2 separate regions of the Homo sapiens genome follow, and region 1 is linked to region 2. Evidence: promoter capture Hi-C in 16 types of primary human blood cells and fetal thymus (Javierre and others, 2016). All regions are on one chromosome and are shown on one strand. Each heading gives the region's core, a stretch centred on a gene start or on the middle of the fragment in contact. The rest is flanking DNA. Distances are from core to core; before and after follow the strand shown. Region 1 overlaps CTSO (cathepsin O). Region 2 holds the start of PPID (peptidylprolyl isomerase D).

Evidence for each region. Contacts are between HindIII fragments. The CHiCAGO score rates a contact against its expected background, and 5 or more counts as called.
Region 1: a fragment that was not itself captured here is called in contact with the fragment with the promoter of PPID in region 2 in 2 of 17 cell types (total CD8 T cells and non-activated CD4 T cells); the score reaches 7.7 in total CD8 T cells.

The regions. Positions count from the first base shown.
Region 1 is chr4:155,944,333-155,950,869 of GRCh38, forward strand. The region is part of intron 1 of CTSO (cathepsin O); the gene reads right to left. Among named protein-coding and RNA genes, the nearest start is that of CTSO, 6.3 kb to the right of the region's middle. The HindIII fragment of the contact is 6,081 bases long and covers 1-5,666 here.
Region 2 is chr4:158,721,519-158,727,654 of GRCh38, forward strand. PPID (peptidylprolyl isomerase D) reads right to left here and starts at 1,878. Exons shown (of 10, transcript NM_005038.3): 1 at 1,686-1,878. The coding sequence starts at 1,770. RefSeq lists enhancers at 1,288-1,871, 1,505-1,984, 1,872-2,456. The HindIII fragment of the contact is 3,604 bases long and covers 1-3,333 here.

The sequences.
Region 1 (6,537 bases), core at 1,376-3,875, 2.8 Mb before region 2:
AAAGTTTTTGAGGTACTTTAAAATAATCTTGATGAAGCAAGGCTTTCAATATAACCTGGATATATAAATGTAAAAATAGAACTAGAATACAAGGTAATTCTGTATATGGCAAATGACAAATATAAGCCAGAGACTATTAACTGCTAAGGAATTCAGAGGATTCATTCATTCAATAAGTACTGCCTGGCCATCTTTGTGAGCTGGAGTAGTCAGGAAGGCACTGAAAATGTAGGATGTTAAGAATGCACAGGAGAGAATGTGGCAGCCATGAGAATGTGCCTCCCAGCCTTCTTTCTATAGGGAGTTTAGCTGCTGCTAGTTGAAATCTCCATGATCACACCAAGGGAAGCCACAGTTCTTACGGGCTGCACCTAGCTCATGACTTAGTGCTAAGGCTTGCTATTTGGGAGACAAATGGGACTCCCCTGACAGCTGGTTTTTGATTAATGACTCCCTGATGGCCTTGCCAAACCAAAGTTTCCTTGGACTGTGAGACAGCATGGAACTCTTCCCCAGTCTTCCTTCCTTTTTTCCTTCACTCAGGGTCAGAATTACATTGCAATCAGATAGCTCTACCTGGACCTCTCCCTATTAGTTCACAGGAATTGCTCCTGTGATTGATTAAAAAAAAAAAAAAAAAAAGCCTGGGAGCAGTGGCTCACACCTGTCATCCCAGCACTTTGGGAGGCTGAGGTCGGTGGATCATCTGAGGTCAGGAGTTCGAGACCAGCCTCGCCAACATGGTGAAAGCCTGTCTCTACTAAAAATACAAAAATTAGCCGGGCGTGGTGGTGGGCGCCTATAATCCCAGCTACTCAGGGGGCTGAGGCAGGAGAATCGCTTGAACCTGGAAGGCGGAGGTTGCAGTGAGCCGAGATCACAGCACTGCACTCCAGCCTGGACGACAGAGCGAGCCTCCAACTCAAAAAAATAAATAAATAAATAAAAAATAAGAAAAGAATGAGAAGACATGAATAACCAATTTACCAATATTAGGAATGAAAGAAGAGCCATGATTACAGATGCTTCAGGCATTAGAAGAATAATATTTTGACAACTTTATGACAATAAATTGGCAAACTGTACAAAATGGACAAACTTTTTGCAAGGCACAGATTGCCAAAGATGAAAGGAGAAATAGAAAACTTGAGCAGCCTTTTATCAGCTAAAGGCATTAAATTTGTAAGTGAAAACTGACTCACAAAGAAAACTTCAGGCCCAGGTGGCTTTTTGGTGAACTTTATACAATGAAGAAAGAAGTAATACCAATATTATCCTTTGAGAAAATCAAGAAGAAGGGAATACGCTGCAACTTAAATAAGACCAGTGTTACCCTGATTCTAAACCAGAAAAATGTATCTAAATAAAATAGAACTACATACCAGTATCCCTCATAAATACGCTGTAGACACAAAATCCTTAACAAAATAGCAAATCAAATCTAACAATATATGTTAAGGACAATATATTGTGACCAAGTGAAGTTTATTTAGAAATGCTAGGTTGGTTTAAAATTTCAAAATCAATCATCAGTACGATACACCATATTAACAGAACAAAAAAGGAATATACCACACACACACCACACCACACCAAATGCGCACACACACACATACGCACGCACATGAGGTATAGACTGGTACGCCCTTTCAAGATCCTTAAAATTACACAAATTGTTTAATTAAGAAAATCTAATTCTAGGAATGGATTTTAGACTCTTGAGTGTAGGCAATGCTGTACGTGTGGGTTCTACACGTGTGTCTGGGAGGGGAGGCAGTAGTTGAGCCACATACTCTATTTAGTTGGAGAGCTAATGCAAGTTTATCTCACTAGATCATTTGTGACATCTACGAGAGAAACAATATATTGCCACTCAAGTTGGCAAATGCCAGATGAAACAAACTTATACATCGTTGGCAGGGAGTTCCCATGTACTTCTCTTAATTTTTGTGTTGCCTTATAAGTGTCATTTCACCATCCAAAGTTTAGGTGTTCCGGTTGTGAAGTAGTTATAATAACACCAATTTAATAATGAAATAAATGAATGTATTATTTATTTATTTTAAATATTTATGTCCCTAATTTTCAATGATGATTCCAATAACAGTTACTTGGTTTTGGTCTTGTGCCATGTGTTTGAAAAGACAAATATCTCCACATATATTTTCTATTTGTTACCACTTGATACACTGTTCTTTATGTCAGCGGCACTAGTGTCTGCAGGACTTCTGAAAATGTTGCTGTCTTCCACTTGTTCAACCAGGAGCCAACTTCTAAAAGAATTCCATTTGCTATTCTGGTGTAATGACTCCTGTCATTTCACAGCTCTCCATAGCCCATGTCAGGGCTACTCAATCTTTATACAAATTGTTGACTTCCTGCCAACAGCAAAATACTCTAAACCACTAAGTGCTCTGCTTCGTCCTCTCCCTACCACTAATCTCTACCCACTTGTTTTGATTTTGCAAAACCATTAATAACATTAAAAGTACTTCCTTGGAGGCTTCTGAACACAGCGTAATAATAATAATTATTATTATTTTGAGGCGGATTCTCGCTCTGTCGCCCAGGCGAGTGCAGTGGCGTGATCTCAGCTCACTGCAAGCTCCGCCTCCCGGGTTCACCCCATTCTCCTGCCTCAGCCTCCCGAGTAGCTGGGACTACGGGCACCCGCCACAATGCCCGGCTAATTTTTTTTGTATTTTTTTTAGTAGAGATGAGGTTTCACCGTGTTAGCCAGGATGGTCTCAATCTCCTGACCTCGTGGTCTGCCCGCCTCAGCCTCTCAGAGTGCTGGGATCACAGGCATGAGCCACTGCGCCTGGCCTCTTTTTAACTTTGCAACAATTTGAAATGTCTTACCATTGCTGTGCAATTTTTGGCTATATAATCAACCTCTCTGAGCTTTATTTCCATCAACAAATGGAGTAATACTGATCTGGAAGAATGTAAGGATGAAATAAAATAATAATTGGAAAACACTTATTACAGAGACTGGCAAAATAAATGCTCAGTTAAAATACTCTCATCCTCTATCTTCCTTTTCCTTTAAACAGAGTATTTGGATTATAGAAATGGCGCTCAAAGACCATACTTTCAGATTCACTTGGAGCAAGTATTTCTCATGTCATTAGAAATGAGGATCAATATTATCTATTGAAAGCAATCTGTTGCTTTCATGGTAAAATAATACTATCAGTATATCCAAGAATATCTATTCTCTTATTTATTTATTGTCTTGTTTGCTATACACTTATCAAGTTCACTAACATGGGTTTCACATCATTTAAAATTTAAAAAGCCCTGTATTTCATTTCTTGAATTATCAATTCTTTTAAGTGACTTTTCCGGTCTCTCTTGATTCTGGCTATTAAAGATTTCATAGACGCATCACAAACTGAAGTCTGTATGAGGCCCTTGCTGCTCATTACATCCAACAACCTCCGTTAGGTAAAGGATCAGTGGGCACATGTTCTCAACAGAGGATATGATAGGGAGCAAATTTAGAGTAGCCATCTCTAAAGTCATATAAAATATTAAAGAAAAGACCTGAACCTTAACTTCATTTATGAGAGGAAAGACGTAAAGTTTTGATGAATACATAGGAAACTTCTCATTGATACTTTTGAAAAGTGCAGATGTTTAAAAATTAGATCTTACATGAGAAAAATTAGAGCTGATAAATCAGAACAGCCTTGGTGAACAGATTTGGTGAAAAATAACTACCTTCACCTTTTTTTTGTTGTTGTTGTTAAATGTGTTTAATTGAATGAGTTACAAAGGGAGATACCAGATTCCTGAACAGAAGGGTAACTCAGAACCCAAGAGATTGAAGAAATTATCCTGATTATAAAACTAGGAAAAACATGTCCCTTGGGCATTAGTACGTCTTGTGCATACTAAGTCTCTATTTATTATAGGTATAACCTCTCAAATTCATACCTAGGACCCTGTCCCTGTAAGACTCTGTCCCTAAAGCTATCCTTATTATGACTTCTAGCAGCCATCCTTCTAAGAGGTAGAATCTCTTAAAGCTGCCTTTGTGTGTGTGTGTGTGTGTGTGTGTGCACATGTGTACTGGAGGTGATCACATATTTGAACTGTGATTTAAATGTAATATGTTTCTAAGCAGTGTCTTCCATATTCTAATTTCCCGCCTGTTAGCCTAGCTAGGATGCTTCATGAGTATGCTAAAGGAGGTTGATAAGAACTGCAGAGTAGTCATGAAACATCCCAGCAAGGCCAAACAACAAACAGAGGATGGGTTCAGTCTGATCATAAAACAGGATAACTCTATTGACAAGAGACCTGAACCAGTCTCATGAGGAGGTTAGGCTGCAGTTTTAAAATTCCTCAGAAATCAACATTTTTCTTACAGGATCAGAAAGCCCTTCCAGCTATCTCAGGCATCTTGGCCCTCTTACCTTTCCAGCTGTGGGTAACCACAGTCTTAGATAATGCTCCGGCTAGGGTAAGTTAAGAGGAAAATGGTCATGTTCAAAACAATCAAAGAGTAGAAACCCAAGGAGGGTGACTTGAGGGGTTCTCAGATGTTTCCTTAATCTACTTCCCTGAGGGGAAAAATCTGTGAAATCTTTCTCACAGACTGCCACTAAGTAAGAGTAAATGAAATCATGTATTTTCTTCTTGCATGTACTCAACTGTTTCTAAAGGAGTAAGCGAATCTTTTATGAGCAAACTGTTGAGTTTTCATTTCTCTACAAGGAAAGTTCTCAGCCACTGAATGCACTAAATACAAAGGGTTGAAGGGATTGTTAAATTGAATGCAAGTATTCATTCTAAGTGTTTTACATGAATTAACTTAGCCCTGTATAAAGGTAATTGCTAACATTAGCCCTCTTCACAGAAGAATAAATCTGAGAAACAGATACATGATTTGCCTAAGATCACACAACTAGTATTTGGTGGAGGGGTATAGTTATTTAGCCTGCAAGAAATCTACTGAAGCGTTATAAACTTTAAGGGACTTCATGTCTGTTTTATCAGCTGAAAAGGCAGTGAACATCTATTATTTTTCCCCATTGATATCTAGGTTTCCTTCCACTAATGATGATTTATTTGCCTTTATCAATATACGCAATGATGTGTGTATTCCCTTACAATGAATCCCATGTATCCATGGGATAAGTTTTATATTGAAATTAACAGAGACACCTAAGGTACTTTGGAAGCTCACTTTATCTTCGGCACTTTAAACTCATTGTTTGTCTTGCAGTTCCATTACTCAGACTTTTAACAACTTTCATTTGCAGATTTTGAAGTTTCATAGGATAAATCATAAATTGTACACATAGATTTAAAATGTTCTCCTTAGGAGTGCTTTCGTTTCTGGAAATTGCAGTAAAGCTGAGGATGAGCAAAAAAGGTAAAATATTTGTATACAAAGAGCATCACTGAGAATTTCTTGGAAGACTTAGGAGTTGTAAACTTTAGATCAGTGATTCTCAACTGAGGATAATTTTGTCCCTCATTTGTCATACTGGGGATTGTCATACTGGTGGGATGCCACTGGCATCTGGTGCATAGAGCCCATGCATGCTGCTACTCACCCTACAATGAAGAGGAAGGTCCCCCACAACAAATCACTATCCATTCTCAAATGTCAATAGTGCCACTGTTGAGGAGCCTTGGATTAGAACAATAAAAGCTTTTTAAGGATACACTTTTATAAAGTACAGCTTTTGAAAAGTTTCTTAGACAAAGTATTTTCTATACAGTGTACTGAAGTGTGTGTAAACATATTGCAGATATATGTTTACTATGTATGATAAGAAATGTGTAGTCAGGATTTGTGTGAGCATGTACACAAAAAGATTGAATTAAAAATACATTCTTTTGTGAACTACTTGGGAGAATCTATTTCTCCAGTGTATAAGTCTTTACATTCTTTTTATTTACAGGAAAATGTTTATTTACAGGATACAATGCTTAAACATAACGATATTCATTTTTTGTGTACATTTCTTACAGGACAGCACGCGTCTTATTCTCCACTGTATCCCTCAGAAAACCCAGACCAGTTCTTTAGACACAGTGGAAATTAAATAAAGTATTGGATAAATGTATGGGAAGATGAATAAATTATAACCTATGATTTTAAGTTTATGATATATTTCCATTTAGTCAATGTATGCTTTAAGTGAGATTCATCAGAAAAAGTCTGCTGAACAACCTTATCTAACATCAAATTCGTGTTTTCATCTTTATATAAGGTAGAACAGGAGTCTCAAAACCCTGGGCCATGGACCAGTACTGTTCTGTGGCCTGTTAACGACCAGGCTGCACAGCAGGTGGTGAGGGGCCTGCGAGCATGCATCACCACCTGATCTCCACCTTCTGTCAGATCGGCAGCAGCATTAGATTATCATAGGAGCACAAACCCTACTGGGAACGGTGCATGTAAGGGATCTAGTTTGCACAGTCCTTATGTGAATCTAATGCTTGATGATCTGGGGTGGAACAGCTTCATTCTGAAATCATCCGCATCCTCCTCACCCCACCCCCACACCCCAGTCC
Region 2 (6,136 bases), core at 628-3,127:
AACCAAATAGACAAATGATAAAAAGAAGGTTGGTATAATTATGGTAGCAGATCAATCATGAATTACCAAGTTCCCCTTTACTGTAATTTTTCTTTTTTGCAATTTCAAGAACACAACACATTGCTACTAACTATAGTCATTATGTTATACAATAGATCTCTTAAATTTATTCCCCCTTTCTAACTGAAATTAGGTCTCTCGTGATCAACATCTACCCAACCCCTGAAATCCACCATTCCATTCTCTACTTCAAGGTCAACTTTTTAGAAACCACATGTAAGTGAGATCATGCCTTGTCTTCCTGTGCCCAGCTTATTTCATGTAACATAATGTCCTCCATATTAATTCATGTTGTCAGAAGTGACAAGATTTCATTATTTTTTATGGGTGAATAGTACTCCACTGTGCACATATATCAAATTTTAAAAAAAATCCATCTGTAGATGGAAACCTAGTTTGATTCCATTATCTTGGCTATCATGAATAATGCTGCAATGAACATGGGAGTGCAGATACCTCTTTGACATACAAACTTCATTTCCTTTGAATATACTCACTAGAATTAGTGAATCTTATTTTATTCTAATATTCAAATTTAGTCTACCTACTGTCATGTATGTATATAAACAGATTTGAAACATTACACTAAGGATCATAACCAATTATAGTAGCCAAAAGATTAGCACCATGTAAGAGATATCATTAAATACAAATAGTTTTAAATCCTGAGTAATTTCTTCAAGAGGTACTGAGAATTTCCAATCACCAAGCAACCAACGGGAGAAAATTAAACAGTCTTTGGGTGGGCGGACTTGCCACGTGTTACGTATACCTGCAGCCTTTGTGCTCTGAGCAAACTGCCTCATGCAACCTCTGAAGCAAAAGCTGTAAAAATTCCTCCTCTAGATAGCAGCTAAGACAGGTGAGATTAAACCTAGCCCTAGCTAGTTGCAACAAACTGAATGTACGTGTAAACGTGTGTGTGTCCTGTACATGCATTCAAACACATTGCCTGGCCAGCAATTCCAACGTGTTCCAGAACAAGGCCAATCCAGTTACAAAGCAACACGCTCCCTAATTCACCAGGCCTTAGGAACTTCTGAGCGGCTATGTAACCTAGGCAACACCATCACTACGTTGAGCGCATTTTCCCAATGGCAAATTAAGAGAAAATGTTTGCTCATCTGAACGGACCTCTAAATTAAGAATCAGTAATAAGGCAAAAGCAATGAGCAAACAAGTCCCTTTAACGTATAAATAACACAGCACGTGCTGATATATTATCTCATGTGGCAAATATAGTTTCCTGGGGCCCAGCAGACGCATATCCCAGGATATGCTTTCCGAACTGTCCCATTGCAAACATAAAATATTTCATGCTAACTTGGTAGTGCAAAGGTGGCGTGGAAGTGCCACCAAATCAGGAGGCAAACCTAAAGGACGCCACAATTCCCGAACTAGAAATTTCCAGAAACTTCCGCACCACCGATGGCATTGATACAAGGGCGCTGGATCGATCTAGCCCTAGATCTCCGGGCCTGCTCCGGCGGACCAGCCTAGGCAGCCATCCCCTCCGCGAAACTGAGCAGTCACCGGCCGGAGCCGCATTCCGCCCTTGGAATCCCCCAAATCCCGGGAACCCCCGCCTCCTCGGGGCTTTTCCGCGAGCGTCAGACTCCGCTCACCTCGCTCCCCTCCGATGTCCACGTCAAAGAAGACTCGAGGGTTACTGGGGTTGGAGGGCTTGGCTTGGGGGGACGGGTGCGACATCTTGACTTGCAGACGTGTTTAGTACGGAATATCAGAGTACCTAGTGGCCGCCCGGGCCGCCCAAACTCCAGAGTCCGTCTCCGCCGGAGACCGGCAGCGACGCTGACCGGCCACTTCCGACGCAAGAACCGGAAGCCATGGCCTGACTTCCGGCACCGCCCCGCTCCCCCGCGCGGTGTTTCAAAGAGCCTGAGCGACTCCGTGCAGCGAACCGCGTGCCCTCCGCCACCTGTTCCTGGCTTCTCATTTAATGAAGTTGCGATCCCAGTTCTCATTATTCTTCTCGCTTGTGTTTCGTTGTCTTTCCCACCCTCGTGGCGTAGAGAGCTTTGGAGTCAACCCCATGCCAGCGTCAGCTCTGCCACCAAGTTGGGTGTGACTTCTCAGAAACTCAGTTTGCTCCTCTGGAAAAAGAATAAAAACGCTGACCTCGGAAGGTCGTTTTGAGGATTAAAGACATGAATCAGTACAATGCCTGGCATAAACTGGTGGTACCCAACCAATAGGAGCCTTATTATTGCCATGTCGTTACAATTTGATCTTCACATTACAATGTAAGTGGTAAGGCTTAGACTAAACGCTCCAAACAGCTAAAGCTGAGAGTCCAGAAGAGAGCACAGTTTTGATTCCTGATAAAACTGTATTTGGCGGGGCGCGGTGGCTCACGCCTGTAGTCCCAGCACATTGGGAGGCCGAGGCGGGCGGATCATTTGAGGTCAGGAGTTCGAGACCAGCCTGACCAACATGATGAAACCCGTCTCTACTAAAAATAAAAAAAAAAAAAATCACCCGGGCGTGGTGGTGCTTGCCTGTAGTCCCAGCTACTCGGGAGGCTGAGGCAGGAGAATCGCTTGAACCCGGGAGGCGGCGGTTGCAGTGAACCGAGATCGCGCCACTGTACTCCAGACTGGGTGACAGAGCGAAACTGTCCCCCCCCCCCCCAAAAAAAAGAAAAACAAAAAAATACTGTATTACTATAGCCCACTTTTCCCTTATGGGGATCTGTGTAAAACATTTACTTTTTACACACACACACACACACACACACACACACACACACACACATATATATGAGGAGAACATAGCCTTGCCTCTTAATAAAGCCTAATTTTGGAGAAGAGTGGCAATTCCCTGTGTAGATGCTTTGCCCTGTAGTTCTATTGGAGCTCAGCAATTTGGATTCAGCCTGAGGCTTACTTTATCAATAAGGCAGGAGATATCCTTAGATGCTTCACATTTTTTTTTCTTATGAGAAAGTAAAAAGTATTGGAATCCAGCACTCAAATAATGTCTCAAAAGCCAGGAGCCTTGTGTCAACAGCAGCAGCCAGAGTGGCTTTTTGGAAGGAAAGACCAGTGCTAATTTTCCCCTATCAGAGCTGTCACCATCCCTCTAGATGAAGGCTCCTGCCCTACTTGCTACCCGGTCTTAGGATAAGTAAAAGTTAGAAGGGTTACGGTTAAAGAACAACTGATTCCTATTCTCAATTTGAATTTGCCTGTGATGTTATACACTGGACTAAGCACGAAAGTTGATGTTAAAAAAGAAAAAAAAAAAAGCAAAAGCTTCAAGTTCTGACTACATGTATACTAGGCATGTTACCAAAGAAAAGTCATTTAATTTCTCTGAACCCTTCTCATTTCCTTTTCGGTAAAGTGCCAAAGAACAGGGTATGAGAATGGAAAAAGATAATGTGTAAGCATTTGCCTTGTAATCTCTAAAGCATTCTTATACACTCTTTTTTAAATTACTGAAAATTAGATGCTATAGTGCCTGAAGTTGTTTTAAAATAACCTGGAGTCAGGTAAGTGGGTTGGGTTGTGGATGAAACATAAGGGCCAGGCAGATGATTGGTGCATGGGAGTTTATTATACTACTCTTCTTTATTTTGCACATTTAAATTTTTTCATAATATTTTAAAAAGTAAAAGAGAAATTACATGTATTACTAGCTACTCATAATAAAACCAATTTGTTGGCCGGGTGTGATGGCTCACGCCTGTAATCCCAGCACTTTGGGAGGCCAAGGTGGGTGGAAGGCTTGAGCCCAGGAGTTCAAGACCAGCCCAGACAACATGGTGAAACCTCATCTCTACAAAAAATATTTTCTAAACAATAAATAAATAAATAATAAAACCAATTTATAGAGTCGTTTTTAATTAAAATACCAACATACCTTTTGTGAAAAAATAAATAATAGGTGTCGGTGAAATTTTAGGACAAATCAGTAAGGATATTATATTGATTGAATTTTTCTGTGTAATCACAAATTTGCCTTATTAACAAAATGCATACATACATAGGCATGTCCACATAGATACTCAGCAAAAGTTGATTCAATTATATGACAAATATTTAGCTCTTACTGTATGCCAGCCTCCATTCTGAGTGCTGATGATACAATGATGAAAAAACATATTCCTTATCCTTTTTTTTTTTTTTTTTTTTTTTTTGAGACAGGGTCTTGTGCTATCACCCAGGCTGGAGTGCAGTGGTGCAATCACAGCTCACAGTAGCCTCAACCTCCTGGACCCAAGTGATCTTCCCACCTCAGCCTCTTGAGTAGCTGGGACTACAGGCACATGCCGCCATGCCCAGGTAATTTTTTTTTTTAATTTTTAAGTGTAATTCAAAATGATTTCCTATCAGATTTCCTTGCTGATCCTTTCAAATTCCAGCACATTAAAGTTAATACAAAATGTTAATTTCTTATGTTCTCCAATTCCTGGTGTTTATTCATGGTATTTATTCATGGTGGTTCCCTGAAGATCCAGGACGGCTCAGAACAAAACTCCTGTGTCTCTTGATAAACAAGAGCATCAAAATCATTCATTAATCCAGTCTCATGTCTGGGCTGCAAACTGATAACTTATATTTTGTCTCATATATATCACAATAAGTTCACATTAACATTTTTATTCTGATCTACTAGCTTAAATTTAACATTTTAGTAGAGATGGGGTTTCGCCATGTTGCCCAGGCTGGTCTTGAACTCCTGGGTTCAAGCAATCTGCCCACCTTGGCCTCCAAAAGCATTGCAGGCATGAGCCACCACGCCTGGCCCCTTATCCTTAACTACACAAATTATACAGTCTTATGGGGGAGAAAGACTATTGAATAAACCTCTACAATGCAATATAATTAGTGTTTTAATAGGAAAAAGACAATCACATTCAGCACACAGCAGGGGCACTGAACACAGTAGCCTTTTCTAAGGTCAGAAATATGAGTAAGATCAGTCACAGGAGCATATGTGGCAAGGAAGACAGGTAAGGAGGGAACAGGTAAAGAGCATCTTCAAAGGAGGGGAACTATATATACTTATAAAGTGAAAATGGGCAACGAGAATGTTATTTCTCCATGAGAAGCCAGTTTTTTAGATAGTGCTGCTACTTCAGGTGGGTGTGGACCACTTGTGTATTAGTCCATTTTTCACACTGCTATAAAGGAATACCCGAGACTGTGTAATTCATAAAGGAAAGAGGTTTAATTGACTCACAGTTCCACATGACTAAGGAGGCCTCAGGAAACTTACAATCATGGCAGAAGGTGAAGGGGAAGCACACTTGGACCTTCCCACGTGGTGGCACGAGATAGAAGAGTGAGGAGCGAAGGGGAACAACCTCTTATAAAACCATCAGATCGCATGAGAACTCACTCACTATCACAAGAACAGCATGGGGGAAACCACCTCCATGATCCGATCTCCCTAGACACCTGGAGTCTCTCCCTAGACACATGGGGATTATGGGGATTACAGTTCAAGATGAGATTTGGGTTGGGACCTAACCATATCAACTGGTTTCAATGTTGAAATCAGAAGTCATGCTTTGGTTTGTATTTTTGTCCAGCTCCTTCAGATTGAGTTTTCAAAATGAGTAACAGTTTTATAACCTAGCCCATTTTATCCCTGAAATAGAAAGGAAAAAGAACACTAAGAGGAGCAAACTCAAAGATACCCCTAATTTACCTTTCCATAGCACTTATAACTTTGTAATATACTGTTTACTTACTTATTTCACATACTCATTAAAAATCAGCTCCTTGGGAATGATAGATAGTAAGAGGAGTTTAAAAAAACAAAATTTAGCTCCACAAGGACAAGAACCTTTGTTTTTTTCATTACTCTATCCCCAGCACTTCTAACAGTGCCTGACACATAGTAGGTGCTCAGTAAATATTTTTGAATGAATGAATTATACAAAATACTAATGGCTTTGAGAATTTTATGAAACAATGTTAACAAGAAATTTTATTTCCATGCCTTTAAGTGTAATTCAAAATGATTCTGTGTATCAGATTTTCATGCTGATCCTTCCAAATTCCAGCACATTAACATAAATATAAAATGTTAATTTCTTATGTTC